Linked DNA regions of Homo sapiens: regions 2, 3, 4, 5, 6 and 7 are each linked to region 1. The links are contacts of gene promoters, found by promoter capture Hi-C in blood cells and fetal thymus (Javierre and others, 2016). All regions are on one chromosome and are shown on one strand. The core of a region is centred on a gene start or on the middle of the fragment in contact, and the rest is flanking DNA. Distances in the headings are between cores, read along the strand shown. Region 1 holds the start of PCSK5 (proprotein convertase subtilisin/kexin type 5). Region 2 has its middle 290 kb from the start of PCSK5. Region 3 overlaps PCSK5 (proprotein convertase subtilisin/kexin type 5). Region 4 overlaps PCSK5 (proprotein convertase subtilisin/kexin type 5). Region 5 overlaps PCSK5 (proprotein convertase subtilisin/kexin type 5). Region 6 overlaps PCSK5 (proprotein convertase subtilisin/kexin type 5). Region 7 overlaps PCSK5 (proprotein convertase subtilisin/kexin type 5).

What was found. Contacts are between HindIII fragments. The CHiCAGO score rates a contact against its expected background, and 5 or more counts as called.
Region 2: a fragment that was not itself captured here is called in contact with the fragment with the promoter of PCSK5 in region 1 in 1 of 17 cell types (M2 macrophages); the score reaches 5.5 in M2 macrophages.
Region 3: a contact is called between a fragment that was not itself captured here and the fragment with the promoter of PCSK5 in region 1, in 2 of 17 cell types (non-activated CD4 T cells and total CD4 T cells). The highest score is 5.2, in non-activated CD4 T cells.
Region 4: a contact is called between a fragment that was not itself captured here and the fragment with the promoter of PCSK5 in region 1, in 5 of 17 cell types (M1 macrophages, naive CD4 T cells, M0 macrophages and 2 more). The highest score is 7.5, in M1 macrophages.
Region 5: a contact is called between a fragment that was not itself captured here and the fragment with the promoter of PCSK5 in region 1, in 2 of 17 cell types (M0 macrophages and M1 macrophages). The highest score is 5.1, in M0 macrophages.
Region 6: a contact is called between a fragment that was not itself captured here and the fragment with the promoter of PCSK5 in region 1, in 2 of 17 cell types (naive CD4 T cells and M1 macrophages). The highest score is 6.9, in naive CD4 T cells.
Region 7: a fragment that was not itself captured here is called in contact with the fragment with the promoter of PCSK5 in region 1 in 2 of 17 cell types (M1 macrophages and M0 macrophages); the score reaches 5.7 in M1 macrophages.

The regions. Positions count from the first base shown.
Region 1 is chr9:75,889,009-75,891,955 of GRCh38, forward strand. It overlaps PCSK5 (proprotein convertase subtilisin/kexin type 5), which reads left to right and starts at 1,665. Exons shown (of 38, transcript NM_001372043.1): 1 at 1,665-2,365. The coding sequence starts at 2,174. The HindIII fragment of the contact is 12,342 bases long and covers 1-2,947 here.
Region 2 is chr9:75,601,085-75,604,187 of GRCh38, forward strand. No RefSeq gene overlaps it. Among named protein-coding and RNA genes, the nearest start is that of PCSK5, 290 kb to the right of the region's middle. The HindIII fragment of the contact is 1,912 bases long and covers 444-2,355 here.
Region 3 is chr9:76,172,193-76,175,527 of GRCh38, forward strand. It overlaps PCSK5 (proprotein convertase subtilisin/kexin type 5), which reads left to right. Exons shown (of 38, transcript NM_001372043.1): 14 at 2,794-2,937. Among named protein-coding and RNA genes, the nearest start is that of RFK, 220 kb to the right of the region's middle. The HindIII fragment of the contact is 6,514 bases long and covers 1-3,335 here.
Region 4 is chr9:76,293,327-76,296,354 of GRCh38, forward strand. PCSK5 (proprotein convertase subtilisin/kexin type 5) reads left to right here. Exons shown (of 38, transcript NM_001372043.1): 26 at 1,949-2,085. Among named protein-coding and RNA genes, the nearest start is that of RFK, 100 kb to the right of the region's middle. The HindIII fragment of the contact is 5,529 bases long and covers 1-3,028 here.
Region 5 is chr9:76,310,630-76,313,801 of GRCh38, forward strand. PCSK5 (proprotein convertase subtilisin/kexin type 5) reads left to right here. Exons shown (of 38, transcript NM_001372043.1): 30 at 27-222. Among named protein-coding and RNA genes, the nearest start is that of RFK, 82 kb to the right of the region's middle. The HindIII fragment of the contact is 3,878 bases long and covers 1-3,172 here.
Region 6 is chr9:76,273,843-76,276,897 of GRCh38, forward strand. All of the region lies in intron 24 of PCSK5 (proprotein convertase subtilisin/kexin type 5), which reads left to right. Among named protein-coding and RNA genes, the nearest start is that of RFK, 120 kb to the right of the region's middle. The HindIII fragment of the contact is 2,246 bases long and covers 306-2,551 here.
Region 7 is chr9:76,253,736-76,257,037 of GRCh38, forward strand. All of the region lies in intron 24 of PCSK5 (proprotein convertase subtilisin/kexin type 5), which reads left to right. Among named protein-coding and RNA genes, the nearest start is that of RFK, 140 kb to the right of the region's middle. The HindIII fragment of the contact is 1,538 bases long and covers 1,088-2,625 here.

The sequences.
Region 1 (2,947 bases), core at 415-2,914:
GAGGCAGGAGAATCGCTTGAATCCGGGAGGCGAAGGCTGCAGTGAGCCAAGATCACACCACTGCACTCCAGCCTGGGCGACAGAGCGAGACTCTGTCTCAAAAATACATACATACATACATACATACATACATACATACATACATACATACATACCTTCAATAATAAACCACATTTACTCTACAGTATTCAGAGATTCTGAATTCCACTAATTTTTTGTGCCTCCCCCTTCCCCTTTCTCCAGTGTACAGCACAATTCATTGCACATGCTAGGTGCTCAAAACAGATGTGTTGAATCAGTCAAATAAATAAACGAATAAAATACATACACTTCTGCACATGTTTTAGTTCTTCTGATCTTCTATTTCTTCAGCTATAATGTGGGGATGATGTTATTTTGTGGGTTTGTTTTCAAGATTAAATAATATAGCATACCTTATACAATATGTAAAATGTCAAATGCTATGCTCAAAGGTACTAGTGGAATTTTAAGTCTGCAGGTATCTTTCAGATTTTAAAAAATCAGTACCAAAAGCTATAGGTGGGATGAGTTAATTAATCTCAAACACATTTAAATTAACAGGAAGAAAGAAATAGGGCATGGTAGGAGGAGAGAAAGGAGGACAGTTAGGGATATAGTGAATACTTTTAAAGTCAGTTGAATTATTTCATACGGGATAATTTTTCTTGTCACAGTAAATCACCCTGTGCCCCACCCCCGCTCCAGGAAGGCAGGGAGGTTGTAAAGGAGAAGCGAGAAGAGGGTTAATTTGAGCTCCCTCCTGCCTGCTGCAGTCACAGTGCATGATAGAGTAATGAAGGTGACGCCGCCACATATCTCATCTGAACTTCCTCTGTGGTCTTTTTCATATTAAAGTCTTTCACTGTTACAGGACTGTGCTTGGAAAAGTTGGGAAACTTTTCCCTTGGTGGAGAAAAAGAAGCCCTCGTCAGACGCAATCCAACAAATGAATGGAGTTATTTCCTTGGCCCAACATGTCCATCCACTAGCACACCAAATATTCATAGAAACATCTTTCCTCACTTCCAAGGCCGGAATTGTACTCTCCCGTGGCGTTGCCTAGTATCGCAGATTTCGAAAGTGAGCAGGCAACAGACTTGGCTTTCGAGCCAATTCTAGGAGTCGATGCGACTTACTGTCCTGTGTGGTAGCTTCTCCCGGGAGCAGAAAGTGTAAAATAAACAGCTGCTGAAAAGCATGAAGAATTAACGAAGTGAAAATCTCGAGTTATTTGTTCGGCAATTGACACGTAAGTGACCTCCTTAAATGCCTAGTTATTTAAGGACGTTTAGAACGAGGATGAATGAATCTTCAGGGCGGTTAATTCGCACCGGCGTGTAAATTTCTTTAGTCTTTCGGGAAGTGGCGGTAAATTCATACAAATCCAGCAGGGAGGGAAGAGAAGGGAGTAAAACCACGATCTCGGAGCGCTCTTCTCAGTCCTTTGGAAAGACTTGCCTTTACTGCCCGGAACCCTGGAGGTTACAGCTGGGCGAACCCGGAGGCGCTAGGACCTCGTCAGCGCCTGGCTGCGGCCGCTTTCAAGAGGGCGGAGGAGGGAGAGGAGGAGGGCGATGTGGGAAAGGAGGGGTGTTAAGGGGGGCGGGGGAAGTCATTTATGCAGAGCAGGAGCTGCTGCCATTGCCACTCAGAATCCTCGCGCGCTGCTCGGAGCCGGAGGGAGCGCTGGGAGCGAGCAAGCGAGCGTTTGGAGCCCGGGCCAGCAGAGGGGGCGCCCGGTCGCTGCCTGTACCGCTCCCGCTGGTCATCTCCGCCGCGCTCGGGGGCCCCGGGAGGAGCGAGACCGAGTCGGAGAGTCCGGGAGCCAAGCCGGGCGAAACCCAACTGCGGAGGACGCCCGCCCCACTCAGCCTCCTCCTGCGTCCGAGCCGGGGAGCATCGCCGAGCGCCCCACGGGCCGGAGAGCTGGGAGCACAGGTCCCGGCAGCCCCAGGGATGGTCTAGGAGCCGGCGTAAGGCTCGCTGCTCTGCTCCCTGCCGGGGCTAGCCGCCTCCTGCCGATCGCCCGGGGCTGCGAGCTGCGGCGGCCCGGGGCTGCTCGCCGGGCGGCGCAGGCCGGAGAAGTTAGTTGTGCGCGCCCTTAGTGCGCGGAACCAGCCAGCGAGCGAGGGAGCAGCGAGGCGCCGGGACCATGGGCTGGGGGAGCCGCTGCTGCTGCCCGGGACGTTTGGACCTGCTGTGCGTGCTGGCGCTGCTCGGGGGCTGCCTGCTCCCCGTGTGTCGGACGCGCGTCTACACCAACCACTGGGCAGTCAAAATCGCCGGGGGCTTCCCGGAGGCCAACCGTATCGCCAGCAAGTACGGATTCATCAACATAGGACAGGTAACGAACTACAGGCTAGCCCAGCCCTCGGCCCTGAAGCCACTGGGGGCTTCTTGTCCCCTCTGCGTGGAACCCCCTCCCCCTCTTCCAGATGTGCTCTAGCAGCTGTTGCCCTAACTCTTGGGCGATGCTCTGTCTCCTGCGCGCGCGCGCGTACGCACACACACACACACACACACACACACACACACCCCAGAGTTGCCGGGTCCGTGTTTTGTTTACTTGTCTTTTCCAAGCCACGCGGGACTGGTAGGGTCTCGGGAAAAATCCAGAGTGCCCCCGTGGTGGCTTCAGAGACGGCTGGACCTTTTGACCTGAAAAGTCGAGTAGCACTAGTAATCTGAGGCAGTCTCAGAGAGGGTGATCGTGGGGAGAGGGGGAAATTAGGTCTTTTGGGGGATAGGGGGTGAGCGCGCCTCTGATGCCTGCGGGGAAGGGAAAGCCTTTCCTGCTCGGACCTGAATTTAGCCCAGAAAGAAGTTTCCTCTTGGGCGAGAGAACCTCTGGCGCTGGAGACTCCGGAGGCGCGGGGACTGGAGCTGGAAGGGAGGAGAAAGGAGGGGGAGGGAAGAGGGGGCCGGC
Region 2 (3,103 bases), core at 150-2,649, 290 kb before region 1:
AAGCAATCTCCCATCTAGAAAGACCCTGCTGAGAGGAGCATTGTCAGCTGACAGCTTCTGCGGCCACATCTCCGTATCCACCATGCATTCATGCCAAGACTGTTGTCTTTCCCAGAAGCTCTCAGCCAGTGACTGAGCATGCTGGGATCCTAGGGACAGGCAGTTCTTGCCCAACATATGACTCCTATAGTGGACAATCCCTACTCAAGGATTCCTCTTCAGGCTGACCAAGACTTTTACAGGGCAGCATTGCAGTCTGGGGCTCAGCCTTCTTCCTTCTCTCTCTCCTTCTACAAGTATTAGAGCTACATCACCATCTGAAGTTTCTTTCTTTCTATGTCTGCTCTCTTGTCCTTGTTTCATGCATGTCTTGAGATATTGCCAAATGTCCACTGGGAGGCACAAATCTCTATTCTATGAGAACCACTGGTATAAGGTAAGAAAGCTTCCCTAGGAAGAGCTAGGTGCTTGCTCCTCGGGCTCCTGTGGCACTTGGTTTCACTAAAGCACTTTTTATGTTTAATTGTCATTGTTCATCTATTGGGCTCTCCCGCCAGCTTATGAGCTTTTCCATAGGAACTGTGACTTTCATATTCATTGCATTTCTCCAGTCCCATTTTGGACCTGTTTTCAGAAGACATTCGTTTAAATGACGAATCAAGGAAGAAAGGGGAGAAGGCAGGGAGAGAGGAATGGGGAAGGAAGGATAAAAACAAGCAGTTAGGCAGCAAAAGAAGGCGGGAGAGAGTGAATCTATGAAGCATTTTTCCTTGGCTAGCCAAAGTGGCCTGGGTTATGTTTCTATATTTGAGCCTGGTCATTCTTAGCTTATTGCTTCCCCTTTAGGAGTTTACTGCATGACTCTATCTATAGCGTTTGTTTGTTGAAGAATCGTTCGTTTGTTATGCTCCAAGTGTTGAAATCCTCTTTGGTTTTTGGATCTTCTCATACCCTCCTCTGCCCACTTTAAGGCCATTTCCAGGCAACCACTGGCAGATCCTTGTCCCTCCCCAGTAACTGACAGCACTTAACCATCAATAACGTGATCTCAGACACCAAGGCACTGCTCCAAAGGATGAGCACTTCTTGTTTTGTATCAACAACAAAAAAATATTCTGAATAATACATGGTCCCAAACGGAAAGGTAGATAGGAATGCAATCAATTAACTTGGATGATGTCATAATCCACATGCATGGCAGAAGAGCTAGAATTCCAGACCTTGCTGTGCTCAGCTCTTCTGAGGATAATTAGCAGTGTTCCAGGGAACTTCGGACAGCCCATTGTGTTTTATATCTCTAACAATATGATAGGCCTGAGAGATTTGGAAAAGGATTCATTAGCTTACTAAAATTATTTAAAACCCAGACAGGCCGGGCGTAATGGCTCATGCCTGTAATCCCAGCACTTTGGAAGGCTGAGGCAGGCAGATCATCTGAGGTTGGGAGTTCCAGACCAGCCTGGCTAATATGGTGAAACCCTTTCTCAACTAAAAATACAAAAATTAGCCAGGCCGTGGTGGTGCACACACGTAATCCAGCTACTCAGGAGGCTGAGGCAGGAGAATCACTTGAACCCAGAAGGTGAAGGTTGCAGTGAGCTGAGACAGCACCACTGCACTCCAGCCTGGGTGACAGAGCAAGACACTGTCTCAAAATAAATAAATAAATAAAAGAAAAATAAAAAAAAACTCAGACTAACAGGAATGAGAATGATGCTTGTAGGGACAGAAAGAAAAAAAAAATACTATTAACTGTTTTTGGCTCATCTTGCTCTCCAAACCTGCATTCTTCTGAATTTCAAGAATGAGTACATGTAGCCAGAGGCAAAGGAACTCTGTCCAGGCATGGACTAGGTAACACAACCAGCCCCAGAAGTTCTCCTATCCCCCACGCTAAGTCCTTCTTCCTAATCTTCTTCTAAATCTGTTCCGTTGATAGAAGTTCCCCAACCTTAAAAAGAATTTTTTTTAACTTCTAGAGTTCTTAGTTTTCCATATATTTCATAGTCTGCATAACAGCTAAAAATATCCTTTGTCATCTATCTTTGACATCAAGTAACACTGCCACTGTCACCCAATGTGGAGTTTTATGGAATTCTAAATTTGTAAGAGATGAATACATTATTAAATTCAGTAATTCCCAAATTTTAGTGAATAAAACATCCATTGAGGGAGCTTGTTAAAAATTCAGATTCTGATAAGGCCCAGGAATTTGCCAAGTTTTGGCTGCCTTATAACTTAAATACAGCAAAATTCACTCCCTTGAGGTGTACAGCTTTGCAAATTTTGATAATTGTATGCAGCCATGAAATCTCCATCACAATCAAGATATGAAACAGTTGCATCACCCTACAAAGCTTTTCATGCCCCTTTACAATCCATCTCCTTTCCCTCCCCCGCTTATAACCCCCAGGCAATCACCTGTTTGATTTCCAGCCCCGTAATTTTGCTGTTTGGGGAATTTCATATAAATGTAATCTTGCAGTATACATACAGCCTTTTGTGTTTAACTTTTCTCCCTTAGTATGATGTTTTTGAGGTTCATCTGGAAAATTTGCAATTAAAATAGAAATTTTTGATGATTCTGCTCAGAGAGTTTCATAGCCGTATTTTGAAAAGCACTCTTCTGATCCAAACTTTTTATTTCATAGATAAGAAAGCTGAGGTGTAAAGAATGTAAGTTACTTACCTGAAGTGAAATATTACTGAGAAATATTTGAAACATGTGTCCCTGGAGAGAATTCCATGAATCATTTAATTTTCCTTTACGTCTCTGCGATGAGAGATTGAATCCTTCAGCAATCATATCCTTAAAACCAATGATATGAGATCTAGTGTGTGAATATATTTTGGATTTTCTTCTGGATTACAAAATATTATTGCCAGGGCTTTGCTTAAGTTCAGAAAAATTTACTGAGAGACAGAGTGTGATTTAGTAAGAAAACAGCTCTACAACCTTCTTGAAAATAGTACATTTGCTTTTGTACATGGTGAAATGTAATGAACAACACTCCTCAACTTGTACTTTCTAACTTCACTGATAGAAAAGATTTCTTTCTCACCTGCCTATCCCCATGCTTTGCAGTTGGAAACGGGTTGTGTC
Region 3 (3,335 bases), core at 281-2,780, 280 kb after region 1:
TTGAGGGTGTTGTTTTGATTTTTGGCACATTGAACCTATATACGCAGATTGCATTTATGTGTTAGCAAGGAAGATGGATTTTTCTCCTTCTGTATTTACACAGCTATTTCATAATAACAGGTTTCAATATTAATTGCAAAATCATCTATAAAATTTAGCAAACAGAAAAAGGGGTAGAGGAGAAAAAAAAATGATGGCCCAAATATGGCAGTTATTTGAAGTGAATCATAGTAGAGGTTCTAAGGAAATAAAATTACATAATAAGTGAAATATAAAGAGATGAATTACACAGGAAGGATATCCCTAGTGGGCTTATGATGTCCTTCAGAAATGGCACAAAGGGAAATAATCAATTTTGAGACAGCACTCTTCAAAGCACTTAGAGGGTAAACTTTTGCATCCAAAATGATCTTAAATAAAATGAACTAAATTTTAAGGTGACTAATGATTAGGATGACCTATAGTGTCCTTGTATTATATGCTTCATTTGTACACTTGAGAGATGCCATAAGGAAAATGCGTTCTCTTTTGCACTGCTACCTAAAGGCAATCAGATAGGTCATCAATTTCCAGCAGTCATTCACTTCTTATCACTCCCTAATGCGTGTTACTTAGAATTCTGGGCCTGAATAATACCCTGATTGTGAAAAGCCTGGTCATTAACAAATGAGTCCAAAGAAAAGCTGGCAGAGGGCAAACCATACATAAACCGATTGTACTGGTCCAATGTAAAAGTCAGAAAAAAATGCATGCATCACAGAATGTGTTCATTTTTAAATGTCAGGCTCCTAAACTCCTAGAAATGAATAGGAGATAATTTTGTATATGGTTTAAAAACACAGGATTTGGAATTGGAGTATGTTTTAATACCAATCTGTCCTCTTATTGCCTTTGAGGAAGTTACCAACCTCTGTAGCTCTGTTTCCTCCTCTATATATTGGGACTGTTAGTACCCACCTTAGAGTTGTTTTGAACAGTGAATGAAATAAAACTTACAAATCACTTAGACTGGTGCTTAGCATATAGAAAGCACTTAAAAACATCAAACATCGATTTGTTGGTGATGGTAGGTGCTCATAGATGAAGGAAGCTGACAAGCTGAAATCCGTCACTTTCTGAGCTAGCCCCTGACCTTGTCTGGATTCTATGCATTCAGCCAAGGTGAGAGGGGTTCTGAGGGGCATTCTACCTTCCTACCAGCATATGCCTATGTTTGTAATGGTTTTGTCTTAATCACTTCTGCTTACGGTTGATTCCTTTTGAGATCAGTTTTACTAACTTTAATGAAATGGAGGCACGTTTCCTTTTTTTTTTTTTTTTTTTTTTTTTTTTTTTTTTTTACTTTTTGCATTGAACACAATTTTGTGAAGCTAAGAAATAAGTTAACAAATAAGAACTAAACTAAAGCAAAATGTTCCTTGTAAGTGATCCAGACTCATAGAAGGTGAAACACTTGCCTCAGGTCTCAAGGCGTTCCTGCCCAGAAAATGCTGTTTTGGGCCAAGTGTGGTGGCTCACGTCTGTAATCCCAGCACTTAGGGAGGCTAAGGCGGGTGGATCACCTGAGGTCAGGAGTTCAAGACCAGCCTGACCAACATGGTGAAACCCTGTCTCTACTAAAAAATACAAAAATTAGCTGAGTGTGGTGGGGGCCACCTGTAATCCCAGCTACTTGGGAGGATAAGGCAGGAGAATTGCTTGAACCAGGGAGTCAGGGGTTGCAGTGAGCCTAGATCATGCCATTGCACTCCAGCCTGGGTGACAGAACGAAATCAAAAAAAAAGAAAGAAAATGCTGTTTTGCACATAGACCCATAGAACATTCTGCAATGATGGAAATGCTGTCCAGTAGGATGGCCACTAGCCACATATGGCTCTTGAGCACTGGAAATATGGTTAGTGTGATGGAGAAGCTGAATCTCAAAATTTTTGTTAATTTTAGTTCATTTAAGTTTAAATAATCAAATGTTTAATGGCTATCACATTGGACAGCACAGGTCTATAGGACAGTATAATTAGTGATGTTTTCTTAATATTGAATGACCGATACCAGGAATTAGGGAGAACAAAGAGTTGTTCTGTCTACTTATTAACAAGTCAGATAATGCCAAAAAAAAATTTTTTTTTTTTTTTGAGATGGAGTGTTGCCCTGTTGCCCAGGCTGGAGTGCAGTGGCGTGATCTCCGCTCTCTGCAACCTCCGCCTCCCAGGTTCAAGGGATTCTTCTGCCTCAGCCCCCCAAGTAGCTGGGACTACAGGCACGTGCCACTGCGCCCAGCTAATTTTTTTTTTGTATTTTTAGTAGAGACGGAGTTTCACCGTGTTAGCCAGGGTGGTCTCAATCTCCTGACCTCGTGATCCACCAGTCTCAGCCTCCCAAGGTGCTGGGATTACAGGCATGAGCCACCGCACCGGGCCATATAAGACTTTTTATACCTAGAAAAACAAAGCCTTCTATTAAGTCCTGGGATTCTCTTAAATATTTCTAATTTGAAATTCAGCCCTTGATCCAGCAATCTGAAGTGTGTTTGTTTCTCAGTCTTCCTATAAATGCTGATTAAATCAAGGCCTCTCTGGTAGTACATGCTCAGTCAATATGTGGTATGTGAATTATTAAATAATTCTGCAGATGACGAGAAATACGCATTTCTAGCTCTGCGTTTGATGTAGTGATTGATATCCATCTGCCTCCCACAGTTCTGTTGCTTTTTCTTGAGTGAGAAGGACTTAAAGATGTTACAGAGCTAAAGAGGGAAAATTTGGTCATGCTGTGATTTCATTATTATTTCTCAAGGTAAATTGAAAGAATGGTCTTTGGTCCTCTACGGCACCTCCGTGCAGCCATATTCACCAACCAATGAATTTCCGAAAGTGGAACGGTTCCGCTATAGCCGAGTTGAAGACCCCACAGACGACTATGGCACAGAGGATTATGCAGGTGAGCTGGCTTCCAGTGGGACACAGGCTAAAAAGAGGCAGCTCATGCATCATCCCACCACATGGGAGAACAGAATGGAATGGAATGGAATGAAATGGAATGGAATGAAATGGAATGGAATGGAATGGAATGGAATGGAATGGAATCGAATCGAATCGAATCGAATAGAATAGAATAGAATAGAACAGAACAGAATAGAATAGAACAGAACAATCTACTACCCATATTCTGACATATTTTCTTCCCCTTAAATATTTGTGTGTGTATATCAGTGCACTCATATATTCAAATATCCATATGTGTTATCTGCAAAGCTAATAGTCCATATTGCGATTGTACCATAATATAGTTAATCTGTAATCTGGGACATATTGTTCGCTTACAGAATTTTACACTAT
Region 4 (3,028 bases), core at 49-2,548, 400 kb after region 1:
AGTTAACCTTATCAGTTCTTAGCCTTACGGTTTTAATCTAACTTTTCCAGAATAGCCTGCCATTCTCTACATTGACTATGTCTCACATCACTGCACTCCTGACCCACTTTGTTTTTTTGGGTTTTTTTTGTTTGTTTGTTTTTAAGACAGTCTCACTCTGTGGCCCAGGCTGGAGTGCAGTGGCACGATGTCAGCTCACTGCAACCTCTGCCTCCCAAGTTCAAGTGATTCTTGTGCCTCAGCCTCCCTAGTAGCTGGGATTATAGGTGCACACCACCACGCCCAGCTAGTTTTTGTATTTTTAGCAGAGACAGGGTTTCGCCATGTTGGCCAGGCTCTGTTAAACTTTGTCAAACATCCTCTGTTAAACGTTGGAGCCAAACCTGGCCGCCTCTTCAGCTCTCCACTACTCGCTAATGAGCATGTTTCATAAAACCCTCTGAAAAACAAATACCCTGGAAGAACATGCTCCAATATCACTAAGGGTACAACATGAGATATTTATTTCAAGAAACAAACATATATAATCTTTGAAAACATTCAGCAACTTTGAATACAGCGAGTGAAATGCCTTACAATAGACATTGTTGCTGGGCGTGTTGGCTCACGCCTGTAATCCCAACACTTTGGGAGGCCAAGGTGGGTGGATCACCTGAGGTCAGGAGTTTGGGACCAGCCTAGCCAACCTGGGGAAACCCCGTCTCTACTAAAAATACAAAAATTAGCCGAGTGTGGTGGCATGCATCTGTAGTTCCAGCTACTCAGGAAGCTGAGGCAAGAGAATCACTTGAACCCAGGAGGTGGAGGTGGCAGTGAGCCAAGATCATGCCATTGCACTCCAGCCTCAGTGACAGGGAGATTTAGTCTCAAAAAAAAAAAAAAAAACAGTTGTTAAGGAAGATATGCAAAGGTTTCCCCTGATATCATGCTGATGCTCTGAAATTCATCAAAGGCAGGGGTCAATTTCACTCCACTCCTCCTTCAGGTAAGCCTGCAATTCAGTGGAGTCTGAATTACAACATTTTACTGTAGAATGAGAATAACAGATAACGTACATAAAAATATTTATAAATAAAAGCTAAGCTACTTCGCTACTATTGTTAATAATCTGGTTACAGACATTTTAGTAAGCTGCCTGGACTCGACACCAAGCTATTTCAGGCCTCAGTGCCAGTTGCTATGTGATAAATCACACAAGCAACCTTTTCACACAGACTTTGGTTAAAATCCCAGTCCCACCGTTAGCTAGCTCTGTGATTTTTGAGCACTTAACCCTGAGCTCCAGTTCCCTTATCTAGAAATTAAAGATACATGATATCTACCATACGAGATTTGTGGAGATTTAGATGAGCTAATACTTGACACATAATCAGTACTCTATAAATAAGTATCAGTACCCCTTCTTTCTCCCCAGCCTTCTCCCAGCTGCCCTGATAAAGAGTCCTTGGAGGTCCAGAAGGAGGTGGTTAGTGACTTGGGTTGAGGGGTGCATAACAGACCAAGCCTGAAATTCAATTATCCACTCCTGTTGAAAATGCTGCACAGGCTGGGCGTGGTGGCTCATGCCTGTAATTCCAACACTTTGGGAGGCAGAGGTGGGCAGATCCCCTGAGGCCAGGAGTTTGAGACCAGCCTGGGCAACATGGCAAAACCCCCTCTCTGGAAAAAAATACAAAAATTAGCCAGGCATGGTGGTGTGCACCTGTAATCCCAGCTACTCGGGAGGCTGAGGCAAGAGAATCACTTGAGCCCGGGAGACAGAAGTTGCAGTGAGCCGAGATCGACCACTGCACTCCAGCCTGGGCGACAAGAGCAAAACTCCATCTCAAACAAAACAAAACAAAACGAAACAAAAAACTCTGCATAGACATACATAAGGAGATTAAATTATGGTGAAGAGAAATACATCAACATAAGTCATGAAAGAAATGATGTCTTCTTCCTCTAGGTTTGATCACCATTGTTATAAAACCTGTCCTGAGAAGACCTACAGTGAGGAAGTGGAATGCAAGGCGTGTGATAGTAACTGTGGCAGCTGTGACCAGAATGGGTGTTACTGGTGTGAAGAGGGCTTCTTTCTCTTAGGTAAGTTAGAAAATGGCACCATCCAAGCTAAGAACCAGGCACTGGAGCTCCACACAGTCGGGGCCACAGGAGCGCACATGTGATTGGTTTCAGAGTCTGTGCGTGTGGGCACCTCTGGCCCAAGGAGAAATTTTAATTTGGTTTAGAAATAAACATTAGCCAAACCACCTCCTTCTGCTTTTATTACTGAAGCATGGTTCCTGTTCCACTAATTAATCTCAAATATCTCCAAGCTGATGGAAACAAGGCTGAATTGGATGGAGATAGAGAGTGGGGACCTGAAGATGAATGTTTTGGCATTGAAGTCACCTGGCATATTGAGAGCTCTGACCCTTGTCTTGAGACTTAATCCATCTTATATATCCCCATGCACTGTAAGAATCTAACAAGATCCCTTGCCTTAGGCTTTGGTCAACTCACTGACTGATGGAAATGGATAGTTAGGAAAGAAATACAGTGTGACTCTTCCAGCTGAAGAGGATAATAGCCCAATGCACTTGAGTGTTTGGGGGAGAAAGAATGAGAAGGACAGCCCACAATGATCTTCAGTGTTTCTCTACACAGAGATTTATTTTATTTGTAATTTTTCAAGGCCTCAAGGATTCTGTATTCGATGCTCTTAACCCTCTAATGGCCAATGTAAATTCCCAGTTGAAAAAGGACTTAGGTAAAGTGTTGGATTTTTTTAGATGGAGTCTCACTCTTGTCACCCAGGTTGGAGTGCAGTGGCGCAATCTCAGCTCACTGCAACCTCTGTTGGCCAGGCTGGCCTCGAACACCTGACCTCAGGTGATCCACCCACCTCAGCCTCCCAAAGTGCTGGGATTACAAGCATGAGCCACCTCGCCCGACCTGGATTTATTAAAACACATTTCTTGGTTGACATAAGCTAAAGCCATCTTGGTTTCTTTGAAAACAAATGCAAAGGCTGGACACAGTGGCC
Region 5 (3,172 bases), core at 639-3,138, 420 kb after region 1:
ATCTTCCCTCTTCCCTGAATTTCTAGGTGCATATCTTCTGGCTCAGGCCTGTGTTTCCTCCTGTCCCCAAGGCACATGGCCTTCCGTAAGGAGTGGGAGCTGCGAGAACTGTACGGAGGCCTGTGCCATCTGCTCTGGAGCCGATCTTTGCAAAAAATGCCAGATGCAGCCGGGCCACCCTCTCTTCCTCCATGAAGGCAGGTGCTACTCCAAGTGCCCGGAGTAAGTTTCCTTTTTAATTTTACTTCCTGCTTGTAATCACTCTCCTCTGGTACTTTGGGAGCAATTCTTTCTTATTCACCAAAAAACTCTTCTCTGCTCTACGAGCACCCACATAAATGTCCTCTGTTGACTGACATGGGTGTGCGCCACAGCAGCCAAAACTTACATGAGGCCAGATGCCCACTTCTCCTCTGTGACTATTTTATGTATATATTTTTACTTTTATGAAAAATATGTTCAGGGGCTGGGCGTGGTGGCTCACACCTGTAATCCCAGCACTTCGGGAGGCTAAGGCAGAAGGATCGCTAGGAATTTGAGACCAGCCTAGGCAACATAGCAAGACTCCGTCTACAAAATATTTAAAAATTAGCCAGTGGGTGCTGTAGTCCCAGCTACTTGGGAGGCTAAGGTGGGAGGATTCCTTGAGCCCAGGAGATTGCAGTGAGCTGTGATTGCACCACTGTACTCCAGCCTGGATGACAAAGCAGGACCCTGTCTTTAAAAAAAAAAAAAAAATTATTTTCCCACCTTATATTAATGATCAACTGATGTCATGTTTTTTTTCCTCCATTACAAAAGTAAGGCTGTGATGTGCACCTCTTCTAAAGGTTTAAATAGGTGAGGCATGAATTATAGATAATAAATAACACCTGGTTAGTTATTTATTGATTCCTCCTGGTTTCCTTGGTCCCCTGGTTTGTAGTTGCTTTACTCTTCCTACCAATAGTCCCACCTCCAGAATTTACCTAGGAAGAAAGTGAGGAATAGCAAATGCAAGAGTACAGCAAGAAACTTTCAGCAATAAGCAACAGAAATGCCAAGTAAAATGACTGAGACATAACAGGGTTTATTATCTCACAGAACAAAAATGCTGCAAGTCCAGTATTGGTCACTTCAGCGGCCAACAAGGTCATCACAAAGTCTGGTTTTTCTGTTTCGCTCTTGTACCTTCCTTAGCTCATCCTCTCTGACTGGCACCGCTGCTGAGCCCACATTACGTGTCTCAGCTCCAGACACGGTCACCCCATGCAGCCACTACCAGGGCCAGGAAAGGGGATGTTTCCCCTTGTTTATCCTTTTCTTGAAGAAAAGAAAATTTCCTCAGATTTTTATTCTAATCTCAGTCGCAAGAATGCATCACTGATACCTCCCTAAATCAATCCCTGGCAAAAAGAATGGAAATATAGGAGTGGTTTAGGCTGAACAAGATTCACGCCTGAACATCCAAGCAACTCAGGACTCTGACAGCCAGGAAGAATGGAGAGAGGGAGGCAGGAAATAAATGTGCGGAAGTAACTGACAGTGTCTACTTTAAGGAGTTAGAATTTTCATTTGCCCTCTTATTAAAAGAATTTGATACAACAACGCCTATTTCCTGGCTGGGCGTGGTGGCTCACGCCTGTAATCACAGCATTTTGGGAGGCCAACCGGGAGGATCACCTGAGGTCAGGAGTTCAAAACCAGCCTGACCAACATGGAGAAACCCCATCTCTACTAAAAATACAAAATTAGCCAGGCATGGTGTCATATGCCTGTAATCCCAGCTACTCGGGAGGCTGAAGCAGGAGACTCGTTTGAACTCGGGAGGTGGAGGTTGTGGTGAGCTAAGATCACACCGTTATATTCCAGCCTGGGCAACAAGAGCGAAACTCCATCTCAAAAAAAAAAAAAAGCAAAAAAGCAAAACTGGCACCTATTTCCTAGTGACCTATTTGTTTTCATTACTGAGATAGACTCTATAGAGTATAAATATAAGTTATGAGTATAAATATAGAGTATAAATATAAGGTATTTACCCTCAAAAAGCATCCAATCTAGTGTAGAAAGCCAAGCATATTCAGCTCAACAACACAGATTTAGCACCAACTAGGGGTAAAAATTGATACTGATGCAATATCAATATATTGTATTGTATATGCGTAGCTCAGTGGAGTCTATTCTTCTACCAACAATTGATATTGATATTGATATTGATGTTGATATTGACACTGATATGGAAAGCTAAGTTAAGACCAACTCCAGGAAGTCCAAGTCTGCAAAAATGCTTACAATCCACTAAGGGAGGTTTACATCAGTCAATGTCATACTTCTCAGGGCCTTAATATACAAAGGGCTAAGAGATTCCAAGAGAAAAGAAAACATTTTAAATCACTATTTTTTGAATGCTTGCAACGTCCAGGTATTGTGCTAAGGGCTGTAAATGTATGATCCCATTAATCCTCACAAGAATTCTCTTATCCACTTACTATTATTTTCCCTCATTTGACCAATGAGGAAAAGAATAGCAGGCTCAATTTTACACATCAAATACATGGTGTGGCCAGAATTTGAACCCAAACCTCTCTGGCATTGAAGTCCATGTGCTTAACTATCACTCAGTGCTGCCTTCTTGTACAATTGAGTATTTTTTAAATCACAACTTTATTGAGATATAATTCACATACCATACAAATCACCCCTAAAAGTGTATAATTCACGGTTTTTAGTATATTCACAGAGTTATGCAACCATTACCACAATCAATTTCAGAACATTGTCATCAACCTAGAAAGAAACCCTATACCCTTTTAGCTGTTATTCCTACTTTTTCCATTTCCCCCAGCCCTAAGCAACCACTAATCTACTTTCTATCCCTGTAGATTTGCTATTCTTGGACATTTCCTATAAATGGGATTATATAAAATGTGGTCTTTGAGCCAAGCATGGTGGCCATGGTGCACACCTCTAGTCCCAGCTATCAGGAGCCCAAGGCTGGAGAATTGCTTGAGCCCAGGAGTTCAAGGTCAGCCTGAGCAACATAGCAAGACCCTGTCTCTGAAAACAAAAACAAAACACATAAAACAAAAAAGACAAAACATGTTTTTTTCTGACAGACTTTTTGACTTAGCATAATGTTTTCCAGCTTCATCCCCAGCTGGGTATTTGAGAAAAGGCTTGATGGTCCCTAGCT
Region 6 (3,055 bases), core at 179-2,678, 380 kb after region 1:
TTGCTATATTGCCTAGGCTGGTCTCAAACTCCCAGGCTCAAGCAAGCCTCTTGCTTTGGACTCGCAAAGTGCTGTGATTGCCAGCATGAGCCACTGTGCCCAGCCAGATTGGTGGGTTTTGTTTTTTTTTTTCCAACAATTCTGGAACATTTTCAAGGATTTTATTGTTATCAAATATTGTACCTTTCCCATTCTCTCAGTTATCTCTTCGGAACTTTGACATTTTTTAGCCCTTCTCATTTTAACCTCCACGTTTCTTAACCACCCTTTCCTGTTTTTTAGCTTTTATTGCCTCTATGGGTTGAAGCTTCTATCTTTTCTTTATATCTATCTTTGAGTTTACCTAATTCTTTTTCTGCTATGCCTAATCTACTGTTTAATCTATCCACTGAGCTTTAGATTCTAATTTTTATGTCTATCACTTATAGAAGTTATATGTAGTTGTTTTACAAACCACACGGTTATTTTATATTTTAAGATGTTCTTTTTATTTCTTTAAAAATTTTAAATATTTGTTATTTTATATTTTGTACCAGCTACTTTCAAGATCTGTAGTCTCTGTGGGTTTGATTCTGGTGTTATTTCTGCTGACTTTCTCTCATGGTGACTGATTTCCTTATGTGGTCTATGTTTTTAAACTGTGACCATTTTCCTTGAAAATTTACCCATGAAAATACTTTAAGGCCTGGGTTAAGATTATATTTTTTAAGAGAAGATTTGCATTTCCTTCTGTCAATGGTCTTAAGGCATTACTTACCTGGAACTACTTGAAACTGAATTTTCCTTTTGAGATGTTCTAGAACACACAAGTAACATGAATTATGACTATAAACCTATGTGATATCTAGCTTAGGGTTACACATTCTCAAAGGGGTTTTTTTGTTGTTTTATTTTATTGTATCTACCTGTCTTAGTCCATTTGTATTGCTATAAAAGAATACCTGAGGCCAGGAAATGTAGAAAGAATAGAGGTTTATCTGGCTCATGCTTCTGCAGGCTGTACAAGAGCATGGCTCCAGCATCTGCTTCTAGCGAGGGCTCCAGGCTGCTTCCACTCATGGTGGAAGGGGGAGAAAGCAAGGGGAGGGGAGGCACCAGGCTCTTTTGAACAAGCAGCCCTCATAGGAACTCTCACGGGAATTAGTAAAGCAAGAACTCACTCATTCCCAAGAGGACAGCACCACCCCATGCATGAAGGATCCACCCATATGACCCAAACACCTCTCATTAGGTCCTGCCTCTAACATTGGAGATAAAAAAAAAATTTATCCTTTTTTTAAAAATATTGTTTTTATACCTATTTGAATGGGAGGAGATAAAATTTTAACATGAGGTTTGGATGGTCAAATAGCACTACTCAATGCTAAGGATGAGACCAAGATAATTTTTTCCTGTCTCTTCCTCCTGAAAAGTTTATTTTTCATCCATCCTTCACTAAGACTGCAATCCATGTGTTCCTATCCCAGCCCTGCATTTTATCTGACAACCCTAACTATAATAAGAATGCTCTGAATTTGCCCATTAAGCAAGATTTTAAAAAAGCTATTTTTTGTTTGTTTGCTTCTTTGGTTTTTTGGGGGTTTTTTGTTTGTTTGTTTTTCAGATGCAGTCTCTTTCTGTCACCCAGGCTGGAGTCCAGTGGCATGATCTTGGCTTACTGCAACCTCCGCCTCTCGGATTCAAGTGATTCTCCTGCCTCAGCCTCCTAAGTAGCTAGGATTACAGGCATGCACCACCACACCTGGCTAATTTTTGTATTTTTAGTAGAGACAGGGTTTCACCATGTTGGCCAGGCTGGCCTCAAACTCCTGATCTCAAGTGATCCACCTGCCTCGGCCTCCCAAAATGTTGGGATTCCAGGCATTAGCCACTGTGCCTGGCTGATGAAATACTAATTATGTGGGAAGACAGAAGAGAGAGAATCATAACTTGGCTTCTTTCAGCCTGAAAAAATATTTCTGTGGTACACTACATTAGAGGTTTCTCCATTCTATCATTCGCCACACTGTGATTTCTCTCTAATTAGCTTTGTTAATTACTGTCCCTTCGCCAATTTGCAAATTCCTTGAGGTAGGGACTGCCTTTCTCATCTATACTCGTTACAGTATCCAAAGCAGTGGATGGACTGTAGTGTGGGATCAATTAAGTGTTTATTACTTCTAAGTCGACTTCACTGCTGGGTGCTCCTCTTCTCCCATCCATCCAGGTGCTTGGACAAGGCCGCGGAGTAATCCCATTCCCTCACCCCACACATCTTATCATTTAATATTCTCAATTTTATTTCTTTACTTTCTCTCAAATCTGAGTTTTGCTGTTACTGCACCCACAGTCTTAGTTTATCCCTAATCATTTCTCCTCTAGGATATTCCTAAAAATATATAAATAAATAAAAAAATAAAATAAAATAAAAGTTTCTTGAGTGTGTTACATAGAATCTAGTTGAGCAAGATTTAATAGATGTATCTGTTTCTGCAGTTAAATAAGCCATTACCACACAGTAGACACAGTCATCATTTTAAATAAATCAGATCACATAGGTCATTTTTACTGAAGCTTCTCATGCCCTCCCATTACTCTTCGATTAGAATGTAAACCTCCTATCCTGGCCTATAAGATCCTATATGATCTTGTCCTGCCTATGACCCTGGCATCACCTCCTGACTCTCTCCCTTTCTCTCCATCTCTTCCAGCCCCACTGGCCTTCTTGATGTTCCTTGAAGGGGACAAGCTTTCCCTGGCCTCTGTCTGGAACACCTGCCCTCAGAACCTCCCATGCTAGCTCTTTGTTATCATTCGAATCTCTACTCAGATGTCAATTCTTGCAAGACACGGCCTCACTAGCCCATCTAAATTAGGGCCTCTCCTCTCCACCCCAGTCTCATCACTCTCTAACCCTTTATCTGAATTTACGTACTTACTTATGTGTTTTCTTCACCCAATGCATATTTCTGGAGCATCTGCTATATACCAGCAGTTCTTGGCACTGGAGATACAGGAAAACAAAACAGAACAACCTGTCTTCATGAAGCTTGCGTTTTACTGTTTGCTTCATGCA
Region 7 (3,302 bases), core at 607-3,106, 360 kb after region 1:
ACATATGGGGAAACTGAGGGTTAGAGAAATGTTGAAATGTGACCAATTTTATGCATATGGGAAATGACAGAGTAATTCAGAAGCAGTTTGTTTGGAGCAACCTTGTGCATAACTTTGCTCCCTGTCTTCACAAAGGAAGTAGTTGGCTTAGAAGCTCTTTGTTATAAGTAAACACTAGGATACACAGGGTTGTATTTCCCAAATCTCGGTGACTTCAAACAACACAGGTTTATTTCTCTCTCATGCTACATCTTCATCATGGGTGAGCTGAGAACTCTGCTCTGTGTGATCCTTAATTCAGGACCAGGTTGATAGAGCAGCCACTACCTTGCCATGGCAGACACAAAGCAGACACTGGCTCTTAGAGGTTTCTCCAGGATGTGGCACTTGTACCTCCTGCTTACGTATTTTTGGCTAAAGCAAGTTACATGATTACGCCTGGGATCAGAGAGTGGGGAGGTGCAATCTTACCATGTGCCTGCAGAAAAGAGAGAAAATAATGATTGTGTGTAATGGTGACAGTCTCACAGGGGAATGACTATGGGTCATGGGACTGTTGCTGGCATATTCTGAGCTTTCACATTGTGTGTTTGTACATGAAATAGTCCCAGATGTGTGCCCGATATGCTTCAATAAATTATTTCTCTTCTGCTCCTCTGAACTTGTCCATTGTCTTACCTTGGAAATGTCTAACTTTTTTCTTCTCTCAAAGCAACTCTTTTGAAGAAGTCACTATTTAAAAAAAAAAAAAAGATGAAATTTCCCCAAGTATTCTGTTATCTCACTTCTTTTATCTCTGGCAACTGATGAGTCAAGAAGAGGACCAGTGGTCAATGCCTTATAGTCAATAGGTAGGCTGTCAGCTAAAAGGAACTTGACCCTTCTTTAGTGTCATTTTTCAAATGCCTACTGTGACAATAGCAAGTGCTGCTGTCTCTTGCCTTTGTTTGCTGCCTAAAAAATGTATTCGCCCATATAAGACACGTCTTGGGAATCTGAACAGCATCTCTCAGTTTTTGAGTTAGATTCAAGAAATATTTCCTGAGCATCTACATCAGGCTAGACATGGGGATATAAAGATGAATAAAGCTTGTTCTTTGCTCCTAAGCTGCTCACATGCAAATGCGATAGGCCAGAAGTTCTCAGCTCTGGGTACATATTAGGATCCTGCGGAGCTGTAAAATGCAGGTGCTGATACCTACTCCCAATGTTTCTAATTTAATTAGTCTGGAGTGAGGTGTGGGCATCAGTATTTTTTTAAAACGCCCTGGCCAGGCATGGTGGCTCATGCCTGTAATCCCAACACCTTGGGAGACTGAGGTGGGTGGATCACTTGAGGCCAGGAGTTTGAGATCAGCCTGGGCAACATGGTGAAACCCCATCTCTACTAAAAATACAAAAATTAATTGAGTGTGGTGGTACAGACCTGTAGTCCCAGCTACTAGGGAGGCTGAGGTGGGATGATTGCCTGAGCCCGGGAAATTGAGGTTTCAGTGAGCTGTGATCATGCCACTGCACTCCAGCCTGGGCAACAGAATAAGACTCTCTCTCAAAAAAATAAAAAAAATAATTTTAAAAAACTCCCTGACTAATTCTAATGTGCAACCAGAGTTGAAAGCCACTGATTAAGATAGATATAGAAACAGATAACTTCAACATCTGTTTAAGATACTGTGTTGAGAATGGAAGCTGAAACAGAGGCAGATACATTATATTAGAATGTATTGTTCAGCTAGGTGGACATTTTACAAACATGACCTCTAATCTTCAATGTAATTCTCTCTGCTCAAAATCCTTATGATAGGCTAGGCTCAGTGGCTTACACCTGTAATCCTAGCACTTTGGGCAGTTAAGGTGGCAGGTGAGGGGAATCACTTGAAGTCAGGAGTTCAAAACCAGCCTGGCCAACACATCAAGGCCCCATTTCTACAAATAAATTTTTTTTTTAAGTTAGCCTGGTGCGGTTACACGCACCCATAGTCCCAGCTACTTAGAAGGCTGAGGCAGGAGGATTGGTTGATCCCGGGAGGCTGAGGCTGCAGTGAACTATGATGGCACCATGGCACTCCAGCGTGGGCAATGGAGCAAGATCCTGTCTCAAAAAGAAGAAAAAAATTCCTTATCCTCATTTTATAGATGAAAAAACCAATGCCCAGGGAGCTTATGTCATTTGCCTAAAGTTACACAGCTAGCAAGTGTTAGAGCCAAATTCAGACTTAGGACTGTCTGGCTCCAAACCCACAGACCAACCAAATAGTTGCTCTTTTTCCAAAGTAGACTGCACTCATACACTATTTTCCTAAAGAACATAAATGAAAGTTGTGCAAAGGTTGGTCTGCTGCATTTGTTTCATTCTTGATTACATTCTCTGTTCCTTAGTTGTGTCTCCTGACATTTCCTTTGCTCCTTCTCCAACATTCAAGCTCACATTCTTAGAGTTATGGGGGAGAAGAACATAGTGGCGAGGTATCTTAAGTTCAATTCTAGAGCAATTAGCTCATCATCTTGGCTCTTCATGCTATTACGCTATTTCCCCCGGAGCCGGGTATAATCGAAGTTCCTCCTACTTGTTGTGTAACTGACCTGCTAAGTCGAGCTGTGAGCCAAGTCTGTCTGGATCACGTAAGCTTGCAGAGAGAACTGAGCCAAGTACTTCCAAAACAAACCTCGTTAAACAAAAGCGGAGTGTGGTCGAGCCGGACACACAGGGTGGAGGGTTCAGAAGACCGTCTGCCAGTCTCGAAAGCAATGTGGGGTCTGTGACATTAAACGTCCAAGGGCAGTTGAGCTGGAGGGATGGATTCACCTTTACAGATGAATCTGGAAACCAGTGAGAATGATTCTGCATGATTAGGAATAATAACCTGGAAAATCATTGCCAAATTACTTCCTTTTAGTGAAATATCTTCGATTTTTCTGAAACCCTTAGTCAATCAAGACCCCAGCTCGTGCCTGTTCATCACGCTTAAAGAAAAATAAAAATGAGTCTGGCAGTAGTGACTAGAACTTCAGATGGTTAGGTCTCATTTAGTTTTGCAGGAGTGTGGAAAATTGAGTCAGAAATCTTAGTCTCTATTCATTTCCATCCTTCCCTTAACACAGTGAAAATCTTGGGCAAGCCCTTTACATTTTTTGTTTCTTAATTCTATCCTGTTTTATAAAGGAAAGCATCACATAAATTGCCTTCCTTGTACCTCCTAATAGGTCCCTAGAGATTATGATGAAAACTAGAAAGGTGCTCATATCTTGAGTTCTTCAAGAGAGAGGAACCAAGAGGCTCTATTGTGAATATCAAAACAGAA